Linked DNA regions of Homo sapiens: region 1 is linked to region 2. The links are contacts of gene promoters, found by promoter capture Hi-C in blood cells and fetal thymus (Javierre and others, 2016). All regions are on one chromosome and are shown on one strand. The core of a region is centred on a gene start or on the middle of the fragment in contact, and the rest is flanking DNA. Distances in the headings are between cores, read along the strand shown.

Region 1 (4,008 bases), core at 1,509-4,008, 250 kb before region 2:
CCTCACTGCCACTTTCACCGAGGCACCAGCCATAGCTCCAGACACTCCTGCCCTCCTCAGCTGGAGGACAGAGAAAGGAGTGGTGGGGTCAGAACCACTGCAGGGACCCAGACATTGCCTCCCAGCTTCTTCCCGGAACCAGTCTCTTCACATCTCCCCCAGAGCCACCCAGCCTCTCAAGGACCCAGCTCTTATTCCCTTGGCTTTCCTCCCAAATGTCACTGTCTTGAGAGACTCCCAAAGGTATTTCTGCCTCTCTCCCCAGCCATATTCCAGCTTGCAGGAACCTGGGCGGTCTCCCCCAGTTACCTGGCGTCCTGGCCCCAGACCAGGGGGGCTGTATCAGTTCTGGCTGCCACCGGCCCTCGTAGGGGGAGCCCCATCCTACTCCTGGGGCCTGGCCACACCAGCTGGGGCTCTGGGAGATACCCTGATTGCGGGGGAAGAGTTGTTAGAAGGCACCTGTGGTTCCAGAGACCCGTCTGGGGTTCCCAGGTTGGAGGGCCAAGGTTACGGGGGGAATAGCAGGAAAAGTACGGACAGCTGCCCCTCTAGAGTGGCTGAATGCAATGTGAATCCAAGGGCAGGGACGGTGATATTTTTATTCCTTGTCACTCGCAAATGTACTGAACGTTCAGATAGAGGACAGAGAGAGAAAGAGGCTGGACAGAGGGCAATTCAGAGAGAGGGGCACATGGGCAGAGACGTGAGGGGGGTGGGAAGAGAGAGAGGAGGGGCAGAGAGTCACAGACACCAAGAAAATTAGAGAAATAAGACAAAAGGCAAGCCTGAGGTCATGCTATGAAGGAAAGAATGGGAGAGGAAAGGAGGAAGAGACACAGCACAGCAAACACACGGTGTTAAAGAGACAGGGTGGGGAACTCCGGCGCCAAAGCACAAACTGGGAGCCCAGAAGAGAGACCAGAGAGGAAACTGCAAATGCAAAACCTGTCCTCAAATTCCCCCACAGTGTCGGCAAGGGAGAATCTAGTTTCCACCTGAGGCCCACAACCTCCATGCACCAGGCCAGTAGTGCAGATGGGCAAAGTCCAAGGACTGTAGGTAGGGCCCAGGACTGGGATCCACAGGGCCAGCTGTGTGGGCTCTAAGCCCCTTGCCCAGCCCCCAGCACTTCCTCCTCAGGATCCGGGACAATGAGCAGGGGAGGGTGGGGTCATCCTGTAGCCATCAGACCAACCCTCAGGGCTCCACCCTTGGGGCGCCCAGAAATACCTGTGTTTGAGGGTAGAGGGTCCCTGGGGCCTCCCTAAAAGGGAGAAAGAAAAGGAAGCCGGCTGGCTGGTGCCAGCCCCAACCTGGGGCTAGTGCTATGGCGTCCACTGCCCTGGGGAAGGTGCCAGGCTGGAGCCCAGGAATGTGGGTGATCGGGTGCCCACACCCTGGGAGGAGAGGCTGAGCAGCCCACGCCCACGGACAACAGGGAGGAGGACCACGAAGGATAAGGGATGCGGAGCCCCCTCCTGTGGCCCCAGTGGACCCCAAACTCCTGTCACGCTGGGCCTCCCCTCACCAGTCTTCCTGGGCAGAGCATGGGAGGGTGAGGGGCTGGTCTGTCCCAGGACAGGAAGGGAGTAGCTGGAATCACAGAAGCTGGCTCAGGAAGAACAGCCCTGACCCCCTAGACCCTGACCAGGGGAGGGAAGGACACTGGTGGGGACAAGCGATGGTGACGCCGTTGCTGCAGCTAATGGGACAGGGATGGGGTGGCACGGCTGGGGGCCAGCGGGGTAAGGGAATAGAGGTAGGGACAGGGGTCGGCCGGTGCAGCTGTGAAGGAGCCGTGGGGTACAAGGAGGATACTGGGCGGCTGGGGTGGGGCCGACCGGCCCGAAAGGGGGTCTTGGGCCACCTGCACCTTGCCCACCCGGCGGTTCTCACACAGGTCCCCGCCCGGCCTCTCAGGGCGGCCATGCGGACCCGTCCTCCTGTCCAGCCAGCCGGCGGCCGCCCGGGCCTGGCACCTCTCTGCGCCTCCGCGGAACAAACAGCACATGATCCCGACTCTTGAGCCTAGATCGCGCCGCCGGACCCCGGCTCCCCGCCCCCCAACCCGGCACATTCCTCCGCGGGCGTCCCTTCCCTCCCCCTTCCCCAGCCCTCACCTCGGCGCGGCGGGGCTCCCGGAGCAGCTCGGCGGAGAGGGACAAGCTTTCCGGGAAGCGTGAGGCGGAAGCGGGAAGGATCTGGGGCCGGTTCGGAGCTGCCCCCGCCCCTCGCCGGGTGCCCGGGCGGCGGGCGGCGGACTCGCGCCCCGGGGGCGGCAGCAGTAGCGGCGCCAGCGGCCGGCGCCCGCCCGGGCAGCGCGAGCTGGGGCGGGAGCGAGGGGCGGGGGACGCGCGAGCGCGCGCGGAGGGGCGGGTACGCGCGGTCCCGGGAAGGAGCCGGGAGCGACCCGGGCTACTCTTGTTAAAGGGGCAACGCTCCTGGCCTGTGGGGCCCAGCGAGCGGGAACGTGGGGACCGAGCTGCGGACGCAGAAGGGCGAGCAGACGCCGCAACCCAGGAGGGTTGCAGACGCCTGAAGAACAGGGAAACGTCGGGGGCTGACCCGCGGGGGCACCCAGGCCCCGGCCCAGTTCCCGTCGCCGCCGTTGGAGGCGCGTCCAGGGGGCGGAGCCTCCTGCCGAGGCCCGCCCAGAAGGTGGCTCCGCTCAGGCCCCGCCCTCAGACGAGCACCGCCCGCCGGCTCCTCCCGCGGCTCGAATCGCCGTCTCTCTCCTCCCCGCCCCGCCGAGTTCTAGAATTCGCCGCGCAGCTGCTTCAGGTGCTGGGGCCAAATGCGGCCGGCCGTGGCGCGGCTACTCGGGCGCTCTGTCCCCGCCTGGCCCTCAAGTTCGGCCGCCCTGGACGCCGCCTGAGGCCCAAACAACCCCTTCAGGCCCGGGTGCCGCCTAAGGCCGGAGCTGCCCTCTCAGACCCGGGGCGTCCCTCAGGCCCCAGCCTGCCCTTCAGCCTGGGCCCACCACCTCAGGGCCCCTCTCGAGGGAAGCAGCCCCCAGTCGTGCCCTCGGGCGGGGCTGCCCGGAAGGTCCGGCCACGCCCGGTCCACCTGTCGAGGGTCCCCGTCGCCCTTTCAGGCGCAGGCCGCGCCCTCCGGCCCGGCGCTTCCCTCCAGCGGGGCTCCAGGCAGCCCCTCAGCCCCAGCCGGACCCTCGGGTCCTCATCCACCCTCGCAGGCGCAGGCCGTGGCTACCCCGAAGTCAACTGTGGAGGATCCTTCCTGGCTTCCTTCAGCTCCATCCTGCCCTTGGATCTAGGTCACCCGCTTGGACCCAACTATCTGAGGCCCGAATGCCCCGCAGCTCCCGCTGCTCCCTCGCGTTCTGCTGACCCCCCTCCGAGTCAGGACATCCCCTTTAGACCCCACTTTAGGCCCTTTCAGCCCAACTCCAACTAGCCCCATCTGCCGCTTCCGCACGGTATACTTCTCTCCGCTTTTGACCTCACCTGCTTTCCCAGCCCATCCCTAGTTCCCTTGGATAAATACTAGTTCACCTCTACAGTTCCAGCTGGCTGCTTCTGTCCTTCGGGAGCCTATGTGCACTCTCTCCTAACTTATCTAGTATTCTTTTTTTTTTTTTTTTTTTTTTTTTGAGACGGAGTCTTGCTCTGTTGCCCAGGCTGACCTCGGCTCACGGCAACCTCCGCCTCCTGGGTTCAAGCGATTCTCCTGCCTCAGCCTCCCGAATAGCTGGGATTACAGATGCCTGCCACCACACCCGGCTAATTTTTGTATTTTTAGTAGAGACTGGGTTTCGCTGTGTTGGCCAGGCTGGTCTCGAACTCCTGACCTCAAGTGATCCGCCCACCTCAGCCTCCCAAAGTGCTGGGATTACAGTCTTGAGCCACCGCGCCTGGCTTTTTTTTTTTTCTTCTTAGAAACAGGGTCTCACTCTGACGCCTAGGCTGGAGTGCAGTGCAGTGGTGCGATCTTACCTCACTGCAGCCTTGACCTCCCGGGCTCAGATGACACTCCCACCTCAGCCTT
Region 2 (3,668 bases), core at 637-3,136:
CGACATGGTGAAACCCTGTCTCTACTAAAAATACAAAAATTAGCTGGGCGTGGTGGCGTGCGCCTGTAGTCTCAGCTACTTGGGAGGCTGAGGCAGGAGAATTGCGTGAACCCAGGAGGCGGAGGTTGCAGTGAGCCGAGATTGCACCACTGCACTCCAGCCTGGGCGACTGAGCAAGACTCCTTCTCAAAAAAAAAAAAGAGTAACATCAACAGGACTTAATTGTTCACCTTAATCCCTTGGTTAAGGTGGTATCTGCCAGGTTTCTCCTCTGTTTTTCCCTATCTATACTCAGTGACTGAAGTCATTAAGGGCAGCCCACACTGTTAAGAGCTAAGGGAAGTCACTGAAGGGACTGAAGCGAGGGAGAAATGAGGTCAGATGTCTTTTTTTTTTTTTTTTGAGACAGAGTCTCACTCTGTCACCCAGGCTGGAGTGCAGTGGCGCGATCTTGGCTGCCACCTCCACCTCTCAGGTTCAAATGATTCTCCTGCCTCAACCACCTGAGTAGCTGGGATTACAGGCCCATGCCACCACACCCGGTTAATTTCTTTTCTTTTCTTTTTTTTTTTTTTTTGAGATGGAGTTTCACTCTTGTCCCCCAGGCTGGAGTGCAATGACGCGATCTCGGCTCACTGCAACCTCCGCCTCCCAGGTTCAAACGATTCTCCTGCCTCAGCCTCCCAAGTAGCTGGGATTACAGGCATGTGCCACCATGCCCGGCTAATTTTGTATTTTTAGTAGAGACGGGGTTTTCTCCATGTTGGCCAGGCTGGTCTCGAACTCCTGACTTCAGGTGATCCACCTGCCTCGGCCTCCCAAAGTGCTGGGATTATAGGCGTGAGCCACCGTGCCCGGCCCTCAGATGTCTTTTTTTGAGGAGGAATACTCTGGGCTGCAATGTGGCGATGAGATACGGTGGAGTTTGCAGCAGGAATGGACATACCTTGATGGACTTGAGTGATTTCAGAAGAGCTCAGCAGGAGTTGATTATTGAATACGAGGTGGTGAGAAAAGGTGGAGTTGGGTGGCTGGGGCCTTTCACTGAATCCAAACCAAGGATCTGTGTGGTCCCAGGAGGTTGATTGCTTCTCCCGCCCCCAGGAAGAAGCCACTTTCCTTGCCTTGGGGCCGGTCCCTGAGGGTTACCGGGGCTGGAAAGTGACTAGCCAACACATAATTAGGAGAACCATGGGATTACCAAGGAGGGTCACAATCCCTGACTGTGAGTTAAAGAAATGACAGCCGTTGAGGGGACTAAAAGGGTCTGGGGGAAAGTAAGTCATCCCTAACTCCTTTTCCGATGCGGGCGGATCACCTGAGGTCAGGAGTTCGAGACCAGCCTGGCCAATATGGCGAAACCCTGTCTCTACTAAAAATACAAAAATTAGCCGGGTGTGGTGGCGCATGCATGTAATCCCAGCTCCGGAGGGTGAGGCAGGAGAATCGCTTTAACCCGGGAGGCAGAGGTTGCAGTGAGCCGAGATCGTGTCCCCTGCACTCCAGCCTCGGTGACAAGAGGGAAACTCCGTCTCAAAAAACAAACAAACAAAAAAATCTTTCTCTTCGTTCCCAGTTTAATGGCCCAATTATGAGCGTGTAATCAAAAGATCCATGACTCAGTGGTTTCAAACAAGTAATTTTATTTACCTTTTCATGTTTTACCAACCTGTCCTCCCCCTAGGCCTTGAGTGTTTTCACGTTTTCCTTTCAGTGTTTGGGAGCTGGGGACTACTAGGGTATCAGCATTCATTTCCGCCGGCGGGCCCCCCGCCCAGGTTTCTTTTCTCCTCGGCGCCTTCGGGTGGGGGCAGGAGGAGCAGAGGGAGTTGGGGATGGGGGTGGGGGCCCGGGCGCCGGGCGGGCCCCGCTCCCTTGAGCAGGCTTGTAAACCAGGTGGAAGATGAAGGCATTGCAGTACCTGCGGGGGCGCGGGGCGCAGTCAGGGACCACGGGGCGGGACTCCCAGGGGTCGGCGCTCCCAGGGGTCGGGGCTCCCAGGGGCGCGGTCAGGGACCAGGGGGCGGGGCTCCACCGGGCGGTCAGGGACCAGGGGGCGGGGCTTGCCCCTCTGAGTTCCAGGGCGTGGGGCTAGACTCAGGGTTGGGTCTGTTGGAGGGTCGCGGGGTCTTTTGTGGGTTGGGGAGATTCCGTGAGCTAGATCTAAAGAGGGGTGTGCTGGGGGATGTCGAGACCTCCCATGGGGGCGACGAGTAGTGGGGACAGAGAAGGCAGGTTGCTGGGCTGGGGGCAGGAGGGCCCCAGGACAGCAGGGACTAGGGTAGAGGTGGGCCTTCGAGGATGTGGAGCCAGAGAGTAAGAGAAGTTAAGGGTCAGGAAGGAAATAGGGTCGCAGACCCTTACCAGGACATGCAGTTGTCGGCCGCTCTGAGGCGAAAGGGGGAGCGGAAGGGGTTGGGCTGGGGAGGGCTGGTGCCCCCTCCAGTGGCCACCGCCATGGTCTGGCCGTCCATCACACAGCTGTACTCGCTGCTCTCGGTGAAGAAGGCTGGCACTCGGAGGGACTGGGGTGGAGCGAGAGTCGCTCTGAGAGGCCCCTCCCCAAATCCATCCCAGCAGCCAGAATGACAGACCGGGCTGAAAGCCGAGGTCCCCGGACAGACCGGGCGGAGGGGAGCAGGGGGAGGACGGAGACAGACACAGAGAGAGGCAGGGGGACCCGTGGGCACTCCCCAGGTTTGTGGAGCAGGTGATGGTGAAGAGGAGGAGAGCCCAGAGACTTTCAGAAAAGGAGATGGGGAGGGGCCAGGCAGGAGGGGAGAGAAGTTCCCTTTTGCCCCCATTGCCCACCTGTAACCGGGGCAGAGACCTCAGCCACGTATCCTTGAGAGCAAACCCGGAGTTAAATCCTGCAGACAGAGAGGAGGGAGAAGCTGGCTCCCACGGTGGGCTTCTCTCCCACCTTCCCCACATGCCTAACCCTGAGACCCAGGCTTTTACCAATAACCAGGTCAGGCTTGGGCCCCTGGAACAGGTGGTAGGGCCTTGCTGACACCTTGATCTGCAGGTCCCTGCGGCCCCCTTTCTCCTTAGTGCCAGAGCTGGGCCGTGCTGATATGCCGGAACCAGGCCGGACAGACACCTCCAGGCTGTCCTGAGGGGCCCCAGGAGTGGGGTGGAAAAGCCACTGGAAGTCAGGGAACTGGAGGATGCACCAGGCAAGATGGGGAGTGGGGGGCAGAAGGGCAGGACCCAACCAGGAGGTCACTGGAGGGGTCAGGGCTGAAAAGCAGGGCCCCCTCAGCCCTCACCCTCTGCAGGGTAAAATGCTGCTCGTCGCTTTCGGGGGGCAGGCCATCACCTACAAACTGCAGCTCCAGGGCCACATGGGGGAGCAGGACCAAAAGCTCCTGAAGGACAGAAAGAAAGAAAGATCTGGGGTCTACCCTGTGCCCACCCCCATACCAAAATGCCCAACCTTCAGGCCTGGGGTGACTTACCCAAAACACCATGACAAGGTCAAACTCCTTCCCGGCCTCCACCACGTGGATCTTCAGTGACTGTTTGTTTTGGATGTTGAGCTCAGGGACTGGGTGAAAAACCAGCGCTTTAAGGATGTGGTCCACTCTCACTCCCCCATCCTGCTCCACCCCCCACTCCGCTCTCCTTACAGGACTGGGGCACCAGGTGGGTGATGACGTAGTACA

Evidence for each region. The method cuts DNA at HindIII sites, captures the fragments that hold promoters and counts their contacts. A CHiCAGO score of 5 or more calls a contact.
Region 1: a contact is called between the fragment with the promoter of INCA1 here and a fragment that was not itself captured in region 2, in 4 of 17 cell types (monocytes, M1 macrophages, M0 macrophages and 1 more). The highest score is 6.0, in monocytes.

What each region holds. Positions count from the first base shown.
Region 1 is chr17:4,996,272-5,000,279 of GRCh38, reverse strand. It overlaps INCA1 (inhibitor of CDK, cyclin A1 interacting protein 1), which reads left to right and starts at 2,758. Exons shown (of 7, transcript NM_001394789.1): 1 at 2,758-2,784. KIF1C (kinesin family member 1C) reads right to left here and starts at 2,330. Exons shown (of 23, transcript NM_006612.6): 1 at 2,124-2,330; 2 at 310-430; 3 at 1-60. The coding sequence starts at 33. RefSeq lists enhancers at 1-13, 14-625 and silencers at 1,868-1,967, 2,018-2,887, 2,928-3,017. The HindIII fragment of the contact is 6,815 bases long and covers 2,172-4,008 here.
Region 2 is chr17:4,744,072-4,747,739 of GRCh38, reverse strand. It overlaps ZMYND15 (zinc finger MYND-type containing 15), which reads right to left. Exons shown (of 14, transcript NM_001136046.3): 8 at 3,633-3,668; 9 at 3,462-3,550; 10 at 3,273-3,371; 11 at 2,962-3,115; 12 at 2,812-2,870; 13 at 2,365-2,525; 14 at 1,627-1,921. The coding sequence ends at 1,750. Among named protein-coding and RNA genes, the nearest start is that of CXCL16, 6.0 kb to the right of the region's middle. The HindIII fragment of the contact is 6,114 bases long and covers 1-3,668 here.